Regions from separate parts of the Homo sapiens genome. Here all the other regions are linked to region 4. Evidence: promoter capture Hi-C in 16 types of primary human blood cells and fetal thymus (Javierre and others, 2016). All regions are on one chromosome and are shown on one strand. Each heading gives the region's core, a stretch centred on a gene start or on the middle of the fragment in contact. The rest is flanking DNA. Distances are from core to core; before and after follow the strand shown. Region 1 has its middle 82 kb from the start of DPH5-DT. Region 2 overlaps SLC30A7 (solute carrier family 30 member 7). Region 3 overlaps SLC30A7 (solute carrier family 30 member 7). Region 4 holds the start of DPH5 (diphthamide biosynthesis 5). Region 5 overlaps SLC30A7 (solute carrier family 30 member 7).

Region 1 (4,337 bases), core at 1,833-4,332, 83 kb after region 4:
TTGAGAAACAGGAACATCTGATCTATACTTTCTAAAGACTGTAACAATCTTCACAACATAATTTCTCTCTAAATATGTTTAGTACATTTAATGTGTTTTTAGTATGTTAGCAAATAAATATATTCTCTCTATTTTTTCATTCTCTGCTAATTGTATCCCGCTTGTTGTTTAGTTTATATGCATGAAGTAACTGAATGCTGGCAAGAGCTTTTAGCTGGGCTCAGCTTTTAGCAAGCCAAAAAATTTTGAAAGAAGACGGGCATTCTTTAGCTTCCAAAATGTTGACTCTGGATTTAGCAGCCACTAAGTAATAATAGACTACCCACTGCCTCAAAGGTCAGAACCACAGACTGATTAGGACATCATGATTATGTGAAGAAAGAAACATTGGGTTATCTAGTGCCAAGTTTGAATGGGATTGTGTTCTGTGACCTACTTTCCTTAGATCAGTTTGCTCTCTATGGATAGAACATGCAGCAGTATTCTCTGGAGACTATTAACAGTTATTATTCAAAATTTAAAGGTTTTAAAGAAGTCATATTAATTATTCTAGCCTACGCAGCGATATTATCGATATGGTTAATTTGTTTGAACTATATGATGTAAAGAACATTATAATGTACAAAAATAAAGACAAGCAATGTTACTGGAAGACTTGATGTAATCAAGTATTATAAACTTCACTGCTACCTATGTAGGTTACACAGATCGCGTTACATTGTTGATAGATACATATTTAAATAACAGTTTTAGTCACATACATAAAATTCATCCTTTTAACATGTACAATTCAGTGGTTTTTAGTATATTTACAGAGTTATACAACCATCATCACTATTTAATTTCGGAATATTTTTATCAATCCAAAAACAAGCCCTATGCCATTAGCAGTTACTCCCCAAAGGTGGTTCTTTGGAATAATTGGCAAAATTGATAAGCCACTGACTAGACTGACCAAGAAAATAAGAGAAAAAACACAAATAACAAATGCAGACTTGAAAGAGATAATAAGAGTATATTTTTATTATATTATCATAAACAACTTTGTCAATAAATTTGAAAATTTAGATGAAAATTTCAAATGGACAAGTTCCTAGGAAAACATACTATACTAAAGGCAAAGAAAAAAGACAAAAAACTGAATAGTAACCATTCTAATAACTGTTACAGAAAATGAATTCATGTTCAAAATCCTTTCCACAAAGAAAAGTCCAGGTCCAGATAACTTTACCAGTGAATTGCATCAAAAATTTAAGGAAAAGATGAATCTCTTCTGTTAGAATCTATTCTGATAGATTAGGATCTGTTCTAACACAAACTCTTCCATAAAATAGAAAGTAAGCAACTTTCTTTCTGTTTCAGAAGACCAGCATAACCTTGTCACCCAAATTCAAGGACATTATGAGAAGAGAAAATTACGAGGGAAACATTTTATTATCTCAATGATGCAGAAAAAGCATTTGATAAAATATAACATCCTTTTTTGATAAACCGAAAAATTGTAACTAGGAATATAAAGGAACTTCATTAATCTGATAAGGGTCTCTACAAAGAAACAATTAGCAAATATAATACCTACTGGAGATATGCCAAAAGCTTTATCTTTAATATCTGGAGGAAGGCAAGGATAATCACTATCACCACTTATATTCAGCCTTGTTCTAGAGGCCTGAGCAAGTGCAGTAGGGTGAAAAAAACATACACTAAAAATTTTTTTTTTATTATACTTTAAGTTTTAAGGTACATGTGCACAATGTGCAGGTTTGTTACATATGTGACATGTTGGTGTGCTGCACCCATTAACTCGTCATTTAACATTAGGTATATTTCCTAATGCTATCCCTCCCCACTCCCCCCACCCCACCACAGGCCCTGGTGTGTGATGTTCCCCTTCCTGTGTCCATGTGTTCTCATTGCTCAGTTCCCACCTATGGGTGAGAACATGCTGTTCTCACTCATAGGTCACATGTTCTAACACACACTAAATTTATAAGAGTGATATCCCTTTCCTATTCAGATATTGACCTGCAGAAAAATAAATCTTTTATAATTTAAAACAAAATAAAAAATGCTATTGAAATTACTCCTTAATCAGCTTAACAGGTTTTACTAGAAACATCCTACCTATGCCTGACTCACTGTAGAGAGTATAAACCAGACAGGAAGCAATGTGTCTTGCAGTGAATTAAAGATAAGCGAATAAAATCATCTTTTAAAAAGAACTAACTCACTGTTAAGGTCTTTTCTGATTATGGGCTATGTTCCATGGGTTTAGTAGTAATCATTACTTTATTTCAATTGTAGATTTACTTAGGAAATAAATAGTATTTTCTTATTGATTGAATGACTTAATTTATTCTGATGTTCAGCCAGGTTTCTTATCAAAAGTGGCAGAAACTAATTGGCTAACTGAAGTGAAGGGAATTTCTAGAGAAGGCTTCAGGGTCACAGAACTTAGAGGAGACTGGGGCATGGGAGGCTTGTAAATAGGCAGGAACCAAAAGGTCACCAGAGCCAAAAAGCATGAAGCAGCTGGGAGTTATTGCATCCACGCTGGATGGTCTGATCAGGGTGCCACCACCACTGCTGCCACCGTCCTCCAGTCCTGGCATCACTCATACCTACGAAGTGCCATGAGCAACCATCTGACTCACCTCACTCATGTGCTGGGCTGCCCAAGTCTTAGTTCTCACTTTAAGACTACACAGTTAATTCCCCAAGAAGAAACTGGCTAAGTGTCTTTTACATAGCAAGAAGCAGAAACATATGTTTTCGTCTTTTAAAAATAATTTTGAATTTTGTTAATGGCATAGGTTTTACTCAAGCATACATATCACAACATTAGAAGGGACTTTACTCTTCCTTTAGCCAAAACTCTTATGTTGAATTAGGCATTAAACAAGAAATAAAAGTGAGTATTGGCATTGAAGAGTGAAATATTAATATATGATGAACCTTTGTGAATAAGTCATGTGTGAAACAGCCTTGTCGGAATCAAAAGGTAAGAGTGCATTCCACATTCTTTGCAGAACTAGAGAAGAGTGTTGCATTCAGGTCATGACCCCGCCGTATTTTCAATTACCTAACTAGCCTCTTCACATGGTTTCCTACATCAATGCATTCAGTTTGGGGCGTTCTGAGGTTGAGCTCAAGCTCAATATGTATAAAACTGAACTCATCTCTTCCACACCTGCTACTTCTCCTGTTTTCCCAATATTGATAAATGCACCACTATCCAATCTAGTCACATAATCCAGAAACTCAGGATTCATAGATGATCATTCCATATCTTACCCTACACATGCTGTCATACCACTACATTCTGTCAATTCTTCCTCCATCTTGCTTTTTGAATGTGTGCCTTCCTCCCTTCCCTTTTGCTAATATCTTGGTTCAAATTCATGGTATCTGTATTTCTCACCACCCAACTTATCTTGCAGTTTAGTTTAATTTTAGTAGGTCCCATTGTTGCCAGTAAGCCAGTTCAGGTTCTTGTTTTTGCTTCACAAAATAATTTGAGAATGAGTCCAAAGTAAGAGTAAGCAAAGAAGTTTATTGCAAAGCAAAAGTGCACTTTGAGAGGCAGAATGGGTTACTCCAAGGGAGAGACAGCAGTTAGTGCCTTAGGAGGAATTTCTTTTATGGGAGTGGTACATACATATTCATAAAATACTGGTGAGGTCAAGTATGTAAAGGTAGACCTGCAGCTGGCACATGTACTCAGTATCTACATGCTTTAACAGGTATCACATGTAACATTAGCAAATAAAATCTCCACCTAGGGCTGTCTTTTTTACTATTAAAATGAGGAAAATGTTACTATTAATATAAGCTAAAACTTGACACTTGTTGCATATGTGGGATCCTGGAGAAGTCCCTGTCCCCCAACCTCCAGGCAGGAATTTGTAGCTAATAGCTTCTTGGGCTTTTGGTGCTGATTGGCTGGAGATGGGGGAAGCTACATCAGGAATATGGGGCTTCTGTTCTCTTTCCCGGGCCATCCTGGGTATCAGAAACTTGTAACCATCTGGTGGTCTGCTCATATAATGTAGGATCACCTATCTTGCAAAAGAGTTAGGTGCTGATGCACAAAGGTGCAGGTGAAAAGGACCCACTGGTGAAAGATGCCTGCTAGGCTTCACAAAAGGGGACAAATCTGTATGGCCTTCTACCCTCACCCTGCCTCACCATAGGATATCAAGTGTAGGCCATTAATTGCAGTGTCAGCCATATATCTCACGACTTATTCCCATTTTATCTGGGCTACCTAAATTCTGAATATATCCTCCATTTTCATGTAACTTAGCTTTTAATATGTTGCTGTTTAGTTAATCTTT
Region 2 (3,993 bases), core at 921-3,420, 120 kb before region 4:
CTGGCTTTCTGTGTTTTATTTAGACACCAAAATTTTTAGTTCCTTTTGTTGACTGATCAATAATTTCTTTATATGACCAGAAGATTATCTGTGTTCCTGTAGGTTATATTAGCTTTTCAGTTCCTTGATTAAATTTCTTCCAAAACTCATTTTGTGTATTAGTCAATTCCTTGTTGAATTTCATTCTGTAAAAATAAATTTCAACTTGTTGAGAACATGAAATAACCAAGAATTTTTTTCCTATAGAGGACTGAAACGTGAATAAAACACTCACTTCACAAATAAAGGTTCATAGAAGCAGTTGATCTAATTTTAACAAATGTTAAATTGTTCTGGTTCTTTTTCAGAGCCTTCATTTTAAAGGAAGAACTTAATTATAGTTGATTTATATTTTAGATGATGAGTAGGTCTCTTCAGTGGAACAATAGGTAGTTGTTGTGTGTTTTTCCCCTCAATAAATATCTGCTACCTTTCACCTTCCCACTAGAACGTAAACTGTATTAATGTAGGGATCTTTTCTATCTTATGCAGGCACTTCAGTACATAGCACATAGTGGATGCTTAATACATATTTGCTAAATGAAAGAATGAGGGAATAATTAATGTATGGAATTACACTACCTATACTAAAAATGGTAACTACCCCGTTAAGGAAAAACAGCAATGACAAAACATTAAATTCCATTCTCTCACTCTTAGAAATTGGGAGGAAAATGGTAGAAATTCTATGTGATTTTTCCCTTCCTTCTAGTATTTTATTTTTCATTTACTAATTTATTGTTGAGTAACTGACTAATCTCAAGGTAACATAGTGTAACAATGTGGTTTTGTATCATCTACGGTTAAGTTTGTTTTCAAGTTACAGAAAAACTCTGCACACCTGTAATCTCAGCTACATGGAGGCTGAGACACCAGCATCCCTTGAACCTGGGAGGCAGAGGTTGCAGTGAGCCGAGATTGAGCCACCGCCCCACAGCCTGGGCAACAGAGTAATACTCTGTTTCAAAACAAAACAAAAACCTAAAATAATGGTTGCTTACACAAGATAAAACTTCATTTCCAAGATGGGTGCTAGTGTTTCAGTCATCCCTGGCAGCATAATGTCTGGAATGCAGATAAAAAGAGGTAAAAGGTGTGCACATTTTTTTTTTTTTTAAGATTTACCTGGATGCTAACACACAATGCTTTCACTAAAATTTTATCACATGGTCATGCCTAGTTGCAAATGTAGTCTTTATTCCACTCAGCCATGTATTCTGCGGAAAGTCAAGGATTTTTTACTAAGGAAGAAAGAGAATATGTGGATAGTGTAGGTTTTGGAAGTGGGACTTGAGAGAGAGAGAGAGAGAGACAAACTAACCTGTCATCTTCTATAGTTGGAAAATTGAGGCCTAGAGTTTTTTACTTCCCAAGTGAGCAGCAGAGCCTACAGCACCTATTGTCCAAGTTTGATGTCCAAAAAACATCACACTGGTTTTTTCTAGTATCTCAATATAGTTTCTGTGTTTTTATGTTCTTACATTTTTACTTCATTTTTAACAGATTTAATTTCAGTAGTATTTCTTACCAAAGCTGTTGCAACCATTTTTCCCTTAGACATAGAAGACACTCAGGTAACTCTAAAGGTTAATGTCTTTGTGTTAACAAAGTAAATATTTGTTGAAGAAATGTTTAAGACAATACCAGACATTTATTTGGTTCTACTTCAGTGTGATATTTCACAGCAGATGTTTGTAAAGTAATTCCTTAGTGAAGAAAAATACTTCTATCAATCACATGTTTTTCTATTAAAATTTTCATATATCTTAGTCTTTTAAAATCAACTTTTTCCTTCTCAAAAGGCAGCATTACTTACCAGCTTATGGTGATGGCTTTTGCTTTCCTATAATTTTATTTCCCACCTTAAAAACATAGATAAATATTCCATTTTGCTTAGAATTTTTTTTAAAGTAAGGGACTATATAATGGAATGTAGTGGAGTTCTGGGTTATTTCACTGTAACTCATTTAGTTTATTGACTTTGCTAATGTCAGGATTCTAAGAATTTTCTAATTTCCTGATAATAAATTGACAGTGTTTTTCCCTGACTTTCCACATCATGGAAAGTACCTGGTAAGGGATTTCTGAATTATGATGATTCCTTATTTTCAATTTTGAACACGTTTAACAAACAATATAAATATACCGTTAGCTTAGTTACCAATAGACCTTTTAAACAATTTTTTATCACTGGGTATTTTAAACATATGTAAAAGTAGAGCATTTAATGGACCTCATGTACCCATCACTGAGCCTTAACATTTATCAATACATGGTCTATCTTATTTCATCTGTTGTCCCTGTCCCACCATTGGATTGTTTTAAAGCAGACACAAGATGTAATTTCTTCCATAACTATTTCATTATGCTTCTCTAAAAGATAAAATCCACCCCCCCTTAACATAACCCAAAACCATTATCACCCATGAAAATTAATGACTCATTAATATCCAGCTAACGAGTATTCAGGAGTCCCTCATTGTCTCATAAATTCTTTTTACATTTGGTTTTACAGATTAGAAATCAAACAAGATCCATACATAGTATTTAGCTTATATGTCTCTTAAGTTGCTCTTAATTTATAGGTTCTCTTTCTCCCTTCCTTTGTTTTTGCCTCCAATAGACCCTAAATAAAATTCTTTTCAAAAGTTTCTTTTGCCATATATTCTATTGACATTTGTGCTGTTTTTGCTTCTGTATTTATGTATTCAGGTTTCTCCTTTATACACGTAGAAGTTTTCTTTTTCTTTTTTTTAAGACGGAGTCTTACTGTGTTGCCCAAGCTGGAATGCAGTGGCGCGATCTTGGCTTACTGCAACCTCTGCCCCCTGAGTTCAAGCAATCCTCCTGCCTCAGCCTCCCAAGTAGCTGGGAGTACAGCCACGCCTGGCTAATTTTTGTATTTTTAGTAGATGGGAGTTTCTCTATGTTGACCAGGCTGGTCTTGAACTTCTGACCTCAGGTGATCCACCCACCTCAGCCTCCGGAAGTGCTGGGATTATAGGCACGAGCCACTGCACCCGGCTGGTTTTCCATGTTAAAATGTCTTTAGAAGGTAGTCATTTAAAAGAGTTTACAAATACATTTTAGAGAAACTAGCAGTGCTTAAAGAGGAGTCTACGACAAGTAAGTGGATTTTCACAACCAGCTTTACTTTATCATGGTTTACTGAAGTTACCTTTGGTGTTTCAGTCATGTAACCTTAGGTATTCTCTATGCTACCTTTATTTTTTAAGGAAATTTATAGTTTAAATTTATAGTTTAAATATAATTCATAATCAGAAACATTTGCTAAGATTGAATATGAGCAGTAAAATTGACCTTCCTCATAAGCAATATTTTTACATGTGATAGGTCAGCAGAGAGCTAAAAGTAGACTGTTTTTCCCATGAGTTTGTGTATTTGCAGCTAGGTAATTTTTAAATCATGATATCAAGTTTAAGGGAAAAGATCTCATATTGCAGTGTTTTAAGAGAACATAATGTTCTTCCATCTCAGAAGAGGGAGTAGTTTTTCAGGTAGTCACATTTTATTAAGTACTAAAAATAACATTTTAATGCTAATTAAATTTACTTAAAATTTAAATAAAATTTCATTTTGATGAGTATTAAAATTGCCGTGCTATATCCACACCTCTTTAAAAGGAACCTGACTGCTATTCTGTGCAAAAGGAATTTTTATTTTTATTTTTATTTTTTGCATTATGGCAATATTTGGTTTATGTTGGGTGCATATAAAGTAAATTTGTTGAAAAAAAGGAGTGTGTGTTAGTTTGCTAGTCTGGTGTAATAAAACACCACAAACTAGGTGGCTTAAACCACAGAAATTTATTGTCTCACAGTTCTGGAGATTAGAAGTCAGAGATCAAAGTGTCATCAGGGTTGATTTCTTCTGAGAGCTCTGAGGAAGAATCTGTTCCATGATCTTTCTGTAGCTTCAGTTGGTTTTCTAGTA
Region 3 (3,717 bases), core at 893-3,392, 89 kb before region 4:
GCTAATAATGGAAAATAAGAATTCTCAGAATATGGCCTACTTCAAGGATATAGAGACAGGAAGTTATCAGGACCTGAGAACAGAGATTACTAGAAAGTAGAAATTAAATATTGCACACTTAGAGAAGGCAATAAGGGGCCATTTAGGTTATGAACTATAAGAATATAGGACTCTCATCTTTTCTTTGCTCTATTATCCAGATAAACTGCTTAGATATTTTCATATTATGGTAAAAAGAATAAGGAAGTCAGAGGTTACATCTTCTTAAGGTGTGGAAATATAATATTTTCCTAAGAAACTATTTAAACTATCTCTTTGTGTAAATGGAAGAAGCAGAACACATCTAGTGAGGATACACATAGATTATCTGTATCTATATCAATACCTATATATATATATATTTATATATATAAATGTATGTAGGAATGCTTGTGTAGCTCTTCATTTTTGCTTAGCATTTTACATGTTCTTGTAATTTGTTTACCTTCTCAGTATTGCTGAGAAATAAATCAATGTTAAAAGCAAATAAAAATCTGCTATTACTACCTACAGACATACTATGTACCCATGTAAGAAACTGCTCAATTGCAAGTTTTTGTCAATAATTCAGAACATCTGTGGGAAGATCGCTTGAGCTTGGGAAGTCGAGGCTGCAGTGAGTCGTGATCACGCCACTGCCACTGCACTCCAGCCTGGGTGACAGACCAAGACTCTGTCCCACAAAAAGAAAAAAAAATTCAGTGCCATGATTTTCTATTTTTAGCTCATATTTGAAGCTTCAAACTATTTGTGTTTAATATATGCTAATCAAAGCCTTCCCACTACAAATTTAGCTCATTTATTTTTAGAAATACCCTCTATATAACCTAATTGTCAGAACTAGCCTTCATTGTCAACCCAATCAGTCAAATCATACTTTCAGAGAAAGTTCTTTCTGTCAGAGAAAGTCTTGCTTCATTTTTCAGTTACACAAATGACAACCGTCTTTTGACTGCATCAAAACCTGGGTTCCTCACATAGTACTTTTTATAGGCATGAATTCTAGTATGTTTCTAATAGTTACATCCAGTGCTTTATGCAAGTCAGTTTAAACTTTTCAGAAACCAAAACTAGTTCTTTTTACGATTTTTGCTACAATCTGGTGAAGTGTGTCTTCTGCCATTTTATGCATTTTATGAAGCAGAGTGGTTTTGGAATAGGGAATGGAGCTATAGTGATAGACTTGGTGACTAACTTATTTTTGGCTATCACCTATGCACTGGAATAATCACTATCAAATGTGATTTCTTAACTATCATAGTGAGTGACAATACTTTATATGAGGTTTTTAAAGCCAACTTTGATGATGGCTTGGAATTGTTCAAGCTGTTTACTGTTTTTTAACCAATACTCCCAGCTTTCCTCTAAAAAAAATTAATAGCTTTATTTTAAGGTCTGTATATTGTGTAAATAAATGACATTAAAGAGATACGGGTTTTTACTATTGTTTGACAAAGGTTTCTTGGGACTTCTCTCAGGAGTGACATATTCTTTGTCAGTATCTGGGGGACAATAGAAGAGGGATTATTACTAAACCTATCATTACTTTAGTCATCCCACTTTACAATATGTCTGAACTCAGAACGTTCCTAATATATGGGCCAGAATACCTTGTTCCTAATACCACTCTTTGCCCTTAATAGGAATTACATAAAACAGAGAAGCCATAAAACTATACCTCAGGTTTATGAGCAGAGACAAAGGGTTTTATTAAAGGCTTACCAGATACCAATATTTTAAATTGTCTTCTTTTCATTTTTCTTTTTTTTTTTTCTACTCCAGTGATTTTCAAACTCTGGCACAGTTTACCATAGTAGTATTTTCTATGGGTGAATTACATGCTTTTCTTTTGTCAAGCGGCTGAAGTGGTAATTGTGAAATGGGAGGGGAGCAATAGAGAACTTACTAATTTACTAGACCAATTGTCTCAGTCTGGTGTCTGGTCAGTTTTGGAATGAGTACCTATGGAAGTGGAGGATCTGATATTTTATTCTCTTATAACTATTCTAAACATCTTTCAGAAAGTATATGGGTATCCCCAAGGGTATTTTTTTGTGATTAATGTCACCAGAATTGTGAAATGTAGTACACACTCCTATATGTACTCTTAATTTGAAGACTCCTGCCCTAAGTCTCAGTGGTACCAAATTGTTTGCACTTTTTAGAGCATGTTAAGTTAGCTTATACCTCTGTATCTCTGCTCATCAAGTATCTTTTCCTTAGAAAATCTTGCCTACTAATGTCTACCTTTTCAAAATAATTGTGATAAGCATAATATAAAATTTACCATCTTAATCACTGTTAAGTATACAGTTCAGTGGCATTAAGTACAGTCACATTGTTGTGCTGCCATCACTGCCATCCATCCACAGAACTCTTTTCATGTTGCAGAACTGAAATTCTGTAACCATTAAGCAATAACTCCCAATTCACCCTGCACCTCAGCCCCTAGCAACCACTATTTTTTCTGTCTCTATGAAGTTGTGAAATATATAAGTGGTACCTTATAAAAGTAGAGTCATACAATATTTGGCCTTTTGTGACTAGTTTATTTCACTTACAATAATGTCCTCAAGTTTCATTCACTTTGTAGTATATGTCAGAATACCCTTTCTTTTTAAGACTGAATGATTCCACTTCTGAATATTTACTTATACACATAGATTTAGTATATTTACTCATACTCATACACATAGATTATCTGTATCTATATCTATATCTATGCATGTAGGAATGCCTGTGTAGCTCTTCATTTTTGCTTAGCATTTTACATGTTCTTATTATTTATTTACCTTCTCAGTATTCCTAAGAAATAAATCAATGTTAAAAGTAAATAAAAATCTGCTATTACTACCTGCAGACATACTATGTACCCATGTAAGAAACTGCTCAATTGCAAATTTGTGTCAATAATTCAAAACATCTGTGGGAGGTTTTGAATTATTTATTTAAACATCTGAGTATTTACTTGGAAGTGGAATTGCTGGATCATATGGTAATTCTGTTTTTAATTTTTTGAGAAACTGCCATGCTCTTTTCCATAGCTGCCACACCAGTTTACATTTTCACCTACAATGCAGAAGGGTTGTAATTTCTCCACATGCTTTCCAAAACTTGTTATTTTCTGTTTTGTTTTGTTTTTGTTTTTATTTTTGTTTTTTGTTTCTGTTTTTATCTACCAGAAAACCCATTAACGTAATGCGTATCAAGTGGTCTTATTGTTTTGATTTGCATTTCCCTAATGATTACTGATGTTGAACATTTTTTCTTGTACTTATTGGCCATTTTGTATATCTTTGGGAAAATGTCTATTCAAATACTTTGTCCATTTTTAAATTGTTTGTTGTTGTTGAATTGTGGGTGTTCTTTATATATTCTGGATATTAACTCTTTATCAGATGTATAATATGCAGATATTTTCTCTTTTTCCATGATTTGCCTTAATTTTCATGTTTTTTCTTTTGTTTCCTAAGCTTTTGGTGTCATATCTGAGAAATCAACCAAACCAATGTCATGAAGCTTTCTCCTATGTTTTCTTCTAAGAGTTTTATAGTTTTAGGTCTTACATTTTATTCTGAGTTAATTTTTATATATGGTGTGAGGTAAGGGTCCAGCTTCCTTCTTTTGCATGTAAAAATCCAGTTTTCCCATCACCAGTTATTGAGAAGTCTGTCCTTT
Region 4 (4,162 bases), core at 1,595-4,094:
ATCACAGCACTTTGGAGGCCGAGGCAGGTGGATCACCTGAGGTCAGGAGTTCGAGACCAGCCTGGCCAACATGGTGAAATCTCATCCTACTAAAAATACAAAAATTAGCCGGGCGCAATGGCACACGCCTGTAATCCCAGCTACTCAGAAGGCTGTGACAGAAGAATTGCTTGAACCCGAGAGGCAGAGGTTGCAGGGGGCCGAGATCGCACCACTGCATTCCAGCCTAGGCAACATAGCAAGACTCCGTCTCAAAATAAAAAAACATAATAAATAATAATAATAATAAAAAGAGTGGCAGACTTCAACTCAGGACTGCTTTGGTTCATCTCCTGGCTCTATCATTCACTATCTGCATGAACTTAGGCAAGTTTGTTAACTTCTCTATCCCTGCAAAATGAACAGTAATTAGAATAATAATCCTAATCTACATGTAAAGCATTTAAAACAGTGCACAGTAACTGTTCTGTAACTGTTCTATAAATGTCAGTACTTATTACTGTGAAGAAACAGATATTCCAGCACCTTAACAAAGTACACATAATTTACTGTAGGTAAGGCTGGGTCCAGCTTCAGGTCTTGACTCTGTAAGTAGTAACTCCAGAAGTTTTGTCTTTGGAAAAAAATACTTTACAAAATAACAGCAGCCAAAATTAACATTTAGCTAGCACTGAAAATTTACAAAGCACTTTCATATACATCATCTCAATAAAACACTACATAACCCTCCAACTGGTAATTGCCACTTGACAAATGAAGAAACTGAGGTTCAGAGAAGTTTGGAAATGTGAACATTGACAATTTCTATTTCTGAACAGTTTTGTGCCATATACCATAGTTAAGAACCTATGCTAAGAATTATGCTGAACACCTAAAGTAGATGTTTTTTACCCCATTTAAAAAAGACACTAAAGTTAAAGGACTTGTCCAAGGTCACATTAACATGTAACAAAGATAAAACTATAACCAAACTTTCCTCTATGCCATCCCCTGATATCTCATTCTATCAAACTGCTGTTTTGTTATTTGTCTGTCTTTTCTTGAAGGTGTTAAGTTCCTTTTACTTTTCCTTAATCACTGATTAGAGACGCACATTTCCATCATTTCGAGCTTAGATATTTTGGTTCTATCCTAAGAGTGAAAAAATGAGAAAAAAAAATGTTTTTTAAATCAAAGCTGGCCTTAGGCTGGGTGTGGTTGCTTGTGCCTATACAATCCCAGCACTTTAGGAGGCCGAGGTGGGCAGATCACTAGAGTCCAGGAACTTGTGACCAGCCTGGGCAATGTGGCAAAACCCTGTCTCTACAAAAAATACAAAAAATTAGCTGGGCATGATGGCACCCACCTGTAGTCTCAGCTACTCGAGAGGTTGAGGTGGGAGGATACTTGAGCCCAGGAGGCTGAGGCTGCAGTGAGCCATGATCATACCATTGCACCCCAGCCTGGGCAACAGAGCAAGACTTATTTTCTCTCTCTCTCCACATATATGTATATATCAAAGTTGGTCTTTACACACAACTTTTATTTAAATGCATGGCCAATTCAAGTAGCAGTTCTTAATTCCTTCTATAAGATTTTAAAGTAATCTGAGGCCTAAAAATTTTAAGTCTATTTTTTGTTTGGAAGACATGACAATAAATCTGCTCCCTCCTCCCATAACATATGTATTAATCCTTTGATTTACATTCTACTTAGAGTTTGACAATGAACCTGAAGTTGACCCTTCCCCCAAATTTACTGGGCCCTTATGAGGGCCAACTATAAATGTATAATATACTAACAAATACTTTGGTTACTTAGTGTATACTCATGTAAGTGTATACTCATACATTTTTATATATTAAGTCCAGGCTCACTCAATATATACAAGTGTATCAGTATAAGCCTTATTGGGAGATAGTCTATTTAAGATAAGATCTCTCTGGATAGGATACAAAAAGGCAATCGCCATTCCCTATGGACACACTTCAAAGGGGGAAGCTTTCAGCTTGGTTTTTGAATATATATAACCAACTCATTAAGGCTGTGTCAGCTCCTCATTAGCACTCAACTCAGAAAGGGTTTCTTGACTACCTCATGAAATAAGGGGTTTTGATAACTATCCCCCAGGAGTATAAAATAGCTTTCCTATTTACTGGAGAAAGCCACAAAATTAGACTTGTAAAATAGGACAAAGCACCCTTTCATTTTCCAAGTCACTTGGTTGGTGTAAAATTTCCATTCTTCTGCTCCTCAGATCATTAATGAACAAGGGATGCGTTTCAAAGGGTTTAAACAAGCAGACCTGAAAATTCTGTTCAGCTTAGTGTATGAAAATCAGATGTTAGATAGCTTTCTTCCCAGGAGGCTGGGGAACGCTCAGCACCTACCAAGGCTTCCTTCCCTACAGTTAGGACTGAGGTGTAGGCTTCCAGATACACTCGACTGCAGCGTCTAACAACTTCCAGGCCCTTGACTGTGATGTCCTTGGCATCTCCCAGGCCCAACCCGATGAGATAAAGCATTTCAAACTTGAGGAGAAGAGAGACTGCAAGACGAAGTGGACAGAAAAACCGTCAGTAACACCGAGGACATCTAAAATCTAGTGATGAACACGATGACAACCAAAGTAGCACAAGAGAAGAGGCAAGTCACAAGGAGGGGTTTGGGAACCTTATGTCACGCTTAAGAACTGGGATAAGAGGTTTTAAACAACCCTACCAGTTTTGCCTCTTGTTACACAAACCTAGGAGCAGCCAATTACCCGCTGAGAGAATCGTAGGTAGTTCTCTGGCCTTTACAAATTCTTAACTACCACCTTTCCGCAGAAGCAACTGCAAAAGCGCCGGCTCCGTGCAGAGAAAAGGCCCACGCCGCCGGCCTCACCTACGGTGCCGCAAAATGCTGGTGCCTTTACTGCACTTTACGACTAGCGGGAGGGGGCCGGGCTAGCGGGCTACTGGGCTGCGGAGACCAGAGCCCGGCTCCACTGAAGAAACCCGCCGGCTGCTGGGGCAGGGCGGCGAAAGGTCAGTCGGCCGAGAGGAGTCCGTGGAGCCACCGTTTCATAGCCTCAGGGAAAGGATCGGGCGTGCTCACGAGCCCTCTAACCCATGGCTTAAACACCCGCTTCCTAAGCCTGGGTAAGTGCAGTAGCTCTTCGCTCGAGAGGAGCCACGTGGAAGAGAGTCGGGAGGGGCCCTGCGCCCTACTCCTCCTCTCCAGAAACAGGGAGGGCTGGGAAGGATTTTCCTGATTTGTCCCCGGATTTGGCCGAGTGCACAGATTTTAATTCCAGTCTTCTCATCCTCCTGTAGTTCAACTAGGTGTCTTCCTGGTGAAGCGTGAGATTGGCAAACCCAGCAGTGAGTGTGCTTCTGATTTCCCAACAAGGCAATGACTCCTTGGGTTTGTCCCCAAGACCTTATGCCTGGAGTGCCCCAAGGATGTTTCAGTCACCCTCAGTGTCAGGAATCCCAGACCTTCCTGTACCTAAAGAAGTGACCTTTAATAGTGCTCAGGGATTTCAGACCTCTCAAGTGTTTCTGCCGGGGGAATTCTTATAAAGCTGTTGGTTACATGTAATTAGAAATAGGGAAGATTTGTTTTGACTGAAAATGCTCTTCCCAAGGTGACCTCATCCAAGTTAAAAAAGACAGCTGTCATTGCTTTTCTTAGCAGGCAGTGTTGGTTACTCAGAATTTTCCTGTTGCCTCCCCGACAATGCCCAACTCCGCTTCCTTGAACCTTGGCTTTTTTTCATTCCCAGGTTCCATCCACCTTTTTGCACTTCCTATCTATAAACTCTTCGTGGCTGTGTTTTATCCCCTCTCATTACGTTGATCTATTCCTCACACCACATACACACCCCAAAAAACTCAAAATGGATCGTAGATGTAAATGGAAAACCTAAACCTATACCAGAAGAAAACATAGGAGGAAATATTCGTGACCTTATTTAGGCAAATATTTCTTAAACCAAAAGCGTGATGAAAAAAATTGATAAATTGGACTTCAACAAAGTAAAAATTTATGCTCTTCAAAAGACTTGAAGCCACATACTGAAAATATTTACAAAGCATGTATCTGATGAAGGACTTGTATGGAGAATATATAAGGAGCACTCAGAAAGCAATAATAAAACAGTTCGTTGTTTAAAAATGGGCAAAAGATTTGAATAGAC
Region 5 (3,773 bases), core at 537-3,036, 110 kb before region 4:
TGGCAACCACTATTCTATTCTCTGTTGCTATGAGTTTGACTATTTTAGATTCCTTATATAAGTGATATAAATGTAGTATTTGTCCTTCTGTGTCTGGCTTATTTCACTTAGCATAATGTCCTTCAGGATCATTCATGTGTCAAAATTAGAAGGATTTCTTTCTTTCTTTAAGGCTGAATGATATTCCGTTGTATGTATATACCACATTGCTTTATCCATTCATCTGTTGATGGACATTTAGCTTGCTTCCATGTCTTGGCTATTGTGAATAATGCTGTAGTGAATACGGAAGTGCAGATATCTCTTTGAGCTCTTGATTTCAATTCTCATGGATATATACCCAGTTTGCTGATCATACGGTAGTTCCATTATTGTTTTTTTGAGGACCCTCCATACTGTTTTCCATAGTGTCTGCACCAGTTTACATTGCCACCAGTAGTATACAAGGGTTTCCTTTTCTCTACAGCTTTCCCAACACTTACTGTCTTTTGCTTTTTTGGTAATAGACATCCTAACAGGTATGATATGATATCTTATTGTGATTCTGATTTGCATTTCCCTGATGATTAGTGATGTTGAGCATCTTTTAATGTACCTGTTGGCTATTTGTATGTCTTCTTTGGAGAAATGTCTATTTTATTCCTTCGGCCATTTATTACTTTTTTATTTTTTTAATAAATTTTTTTATTTTTAATTTTTGTGGGTACATAGTAGCTGTATATTCTTATTATTTATTTATTTATTTATTTTTGAGATGGAGTCTCGCTCTGTCACCCAGGCTGGAGTTCAGTGGTGCGATATCGGCTCACTGCAACCTCTGCCTCCCGGGTTCAAGTGAATCTCCTGCCTCAGCCTCCCGAGTAGCTGGATTACAGGCGTGTGCCACCACACCCAGCTAACTTTTTGTATTTTTAGTAGAGACGAGGTTTCACCGTGTTAGCCAGGATGGTCTCAATCTCCTGACATCGTGATCCACCTGCCTTGGCCTCCCGAACTGCTGAGATTACAGGTGTGAGCCACTGTGCCCAACCAGTAGGTGTATATTGTTATGGGGTACATGAGATGTTTTGATACAGGCATGCAGTGTGAAATAATCACATCATGGAGATGAGGTATCCTTCTCCTCAGGCATTTATCCTTTGTATTACAAACAATCCAGTTACACTCTTTTAGTTATTTTGAAAGGTACAATTAATATTGACTGTAGTCACCCTGTTGTGCTATCAAATAGTAAATCTTATTCATTCATTCTTTTTTTTTTTTTTTTTTTTTTGTACCCATTAACCATCCTCACTCCTGCAGCACCACACTACCCTTCCCAGCCTCTGGTAACCATCCTTCTACTCTCTGCTTCCATGAGTTTAATTGTTTTGAATTTTTGTACTCCACAAATAAGTGAGAACATGCAATGTTTGTCGTTCTGTAACTCTTTGACCATTTTAAAATCAGGTTATTTATTTACCTTTGCTGTTGATTGTGAGTTCTGTATATATTTTATCAGATACATAGTTTGCAAATATTTTCTGTCATTCTGTAAGTTGCCTTTTCATTTTGTTATTTGGTTCCTTTGCCTTGCAGAAGCTTTTTAATTTGATGTAATCCTTCTTGTCTATTTTTGCCTGTTGCCTGTGTCAGTCTCTAAAATATCCTGTATTTTTATAACAGTTACACTGGTATGCTTTAAAACCTTGCTTTTCCAACTTTTTTGCTCACATGCATCCCAAAATAATGTTGAAAAACTGCATATCTCTTACACTTTTGGCTATCAGCTGGATTTTTCAGGGTAGCTACTTCTTCATTCCCATACAGCAGTACAATATCTAGATAGGAAATATTATATGGTGTTATGCTTTTATATTTCTTTGTTACATTATTGCAGAACATTGTTATAATGCTCTATCAAAGCTGTACTGATAAGGGTACCTTGACCTTTTTGGTGCTGTGGGCCATGAACAAATGATGATAGTAGGTACATTGTTAGTTGTGATCAGAAAGCTTGTCAGTCTTCCTGATGATCTGTTTAAACAAATATTGCTCATCTTTTGCCTTGTTTTCCTATATTTTCTGTTTTAATGTTAAAGCTGAATAGTAATTTTCAAGATGTTTAGAGATAGAAATTATAGCATTTTGTCATCATAAAAGCAAAATGAAAAAAATTATTTTTATCTCTTCTGTATCAAGAGTTTGCCACATTAATCTAGAAGCTGTTGAAAACTACTGTTTACCATAGTCAAGTTATCTTTCTATCCTGGCTTCATTTCTTGGACCTCATAACTTCAAGCAGTACATTTGGGTTTCTCTGAATTTTCCAATTGTAAGAGTATTAAAAGATATTTTATGAATACTGGAAGATTTTCACAATGTCTTTAATTTCCTGTGCTTTTAATCTTTTTAATACAATAATTTCTGAAATACTCCATACTTTTGATGAATTTTAAAACTACTGCCACTAAATTTACCTCCACTCAATTATTTTATTAAATTTAAAAAATAAATTTGTAAGTTTGATATGGCTATATAGCCATGCATTCTTGATGATGCATTTGAATGAAAAGGACTCTGAATTGTAAAAACTTGAATGAGGAATTGAAAACATGTTTTAAAATAACTTAATTCTCTACAGATGGCCCGTCCTTAAAAGAAACAACAGGACCCAGCAGACAGATTTTACAAGGTATGACAAGCAATTTTTATGTTTCTTAGTTTTTTGAAACTGCTTTTATAGTTTTGAAGTTTTAGTTGTCTGAAGTTTTCCTTTAAGAAAAATATAAAACATAGTGTTTGTGTTTAGTGTTAGCCTTTCTAGTGATTGTTTTTTATATACTATTAGATATATTAGCAGACATTCTTTTAATTGTCACTTGACTGTTTTCTCTGATTTGATAATAAAAGCAAAATATAGAGCTGGGTGCACTTGGCATGTCCCCACAATCCCAGCTACTCAGGAGAATTGCTTGCTTGCGCCCAAGAGTTTGAGACCACCCTGGGGAACATATGAGACTCGTATCTCAAAAAGATTCGGAAACTATTCTGCTTGAATATAAGTAATACCCATGCCTGTGACTATAAACATTGTATAGATGCTTCTTGATTTACTGTGGGGTTGTGTCCTAATAAACCCGTGGTAAATTGAAGATACTGTAGGTTGAAAATGCATTTAATACACCTAACCTACCGAACATCATAGTTTTGCCTTGCCTACCTTAAATGTGCTCAGAACACTTGCATTAGCCTACAGTTGGGCAAAATCATCTAACACAAAGCCTATTTTATAATAAAGTGTTGAATATCTCATGTAATTTATTTAATACAGTCCACTGTAGAGTACAGTATCAGTTGTTTACCCTTGTGATTGCTTGGCTGACTGGGAGCTGCCGCCTGCTGTTGCTGCCCAGCATCATGAGAGATGATCATAGCACATTATTGCCAGCCCAGGAAAAGATCAAAATTCAAAATTTGAAGTATAGTTTCTACTGAATGCATACTGCTTTCACACCATCATGAAGCCAAAGTCATAAGTTGATCATTTTAAGTCGAGGACTGTCTGTAGGAGTATGTTTGCTTTTACAGGATTATTATGTAGTTTTTCCAAGAATAATATTTAATATGTTTTTATGTTGTGGGAAAATTTAGAGCTAAAGATTTAATGCAAAGTGAGAACTCCATAATATTTGTAGGCCATCAATAGCTAATACATGTGTAAAATTGTATATTACAAAGTTTTACATGCCAGAGAAAATCCTGTCTATGAATTATAGTAATTTTTTTTTGTT

What was found. The method cuts DNA at HindIII sites, captures the fragments that hold promoters and counts their contacts. A CHiCAGO score of 5 or more calls a contact.
Region 1: a contact is called between a fragment that was not itself captured here and the fragment with the promoter of DPH5 in region 4, in 8 of 17 cell types (activated CD4 T cells, non-activated CD4 T cells, naive CD8 T cells and 5 more). The highest score is 16.0, in activated CD4 T cells.
Region 2: a contact is called between a fragment that was not itself captured here and the fragment with the promoter of DPH5 in region 4, in 4 of 17 cell types (non-activated CD4 T cells, activated CD4 T cells, total CD8 T cells and 1 more). The highest score is 8.8, in non-activated CD4 T cells.
Region 3: a contact is called between a fragment that was not itself captured here and the fragment with the promoter of DPH5 in region 4, in 8 of 17 cell types (activated CD4 T cells, non-activated CD4 T cells, total CD8 T cells and 5 more). The highest score is 14.1, in activated CD4 T cells.
Region 5: a contact is called between a fragment that was not itself captured here and the fragment with the promoter of DPH5 in region 4, in 6 of 17 cell types (activated CD4 T cells, non-activated CD4 T cells, total CD8 T cells and 3 more). The highest score is 11.2, in activated CD4 T cells.

Annotation. Positions count from the first base shown.
Region 1 is chr1:101,105,769-101,110,105 of GRCh38, forward strand. No RefSeq gene overlaps it. Among named protein-coding and RNA genes, the nearest start is that of DPH5-DT, 82 kb to the left of the region's middle. The HindIII fragment of the contact is 2,977 bases long and covers 1,595-4,337 here.
Region 2 is chr1:100,898,679-100,902,671 of GRCh38, forward strand. All of the region lies in intron 2 of SLC30A7 (solute carrier family 30 member 7), which reads left to right. Among named protein-coding and RNA genes, the nearest start is that of SLC30A7, 4.6 kb to the left of the region's middle. The HindIII fragment of the contact is 6,699 bases long and covers 1-3,993 here.
Region 3 is chr1:100,934,283-100,937,999 of GRCh38, forward strand. All of the region lies in intron 8 of SLC30A7 (solute carrier family 30 member 7), which reads left to right. Among named protein-coding and RNA genes, the nearest start is that of SLC30A7, 40 kb to the left of the region's middle. The HindIII fragment of the contact is 2,736 bases long and covers 775-3,510 here.
Region 4 is chr1:101,022,940-101,027,101 of GRCh38, forward strand. It overlaps DPH5 (diphthamide biosynthesis 5), which reads right to left and starts at 2,845. Exons shown (of 8, transcript NM_015958.3): 1 at 2,744-2,845; 2 at 2,370-2,527. The coding sequence starts at 2,504. DPH5-DT (DPH5 divergent transcript) reads left to right here and starts at 2,907. Exons shown (of 5, transcript NR_109849.1): 1 at 2,907-3,122. RefSeq lists enhancers at 2,375-3,574, 2,667-2,776. The HindIII fragment of the contact is 3,765 bases long and covers 1,979-4,162 here.
Region 5 is chr1:100,915,454-100,919,226 of GRCh38, forward strand. SLC30A7 (solute carrier family 30 member 7) reads left to right here. Exons shown (of 11, transcript NM_133496.5): 7 at 2,624-2,674. Among named protein-coding and RNA genes, the nearest start is that of SLC30A7, 21 kb to the left of the region's middle. The HindIII fragment of the contact is 414 bases long and covers 1,580-1,993 here.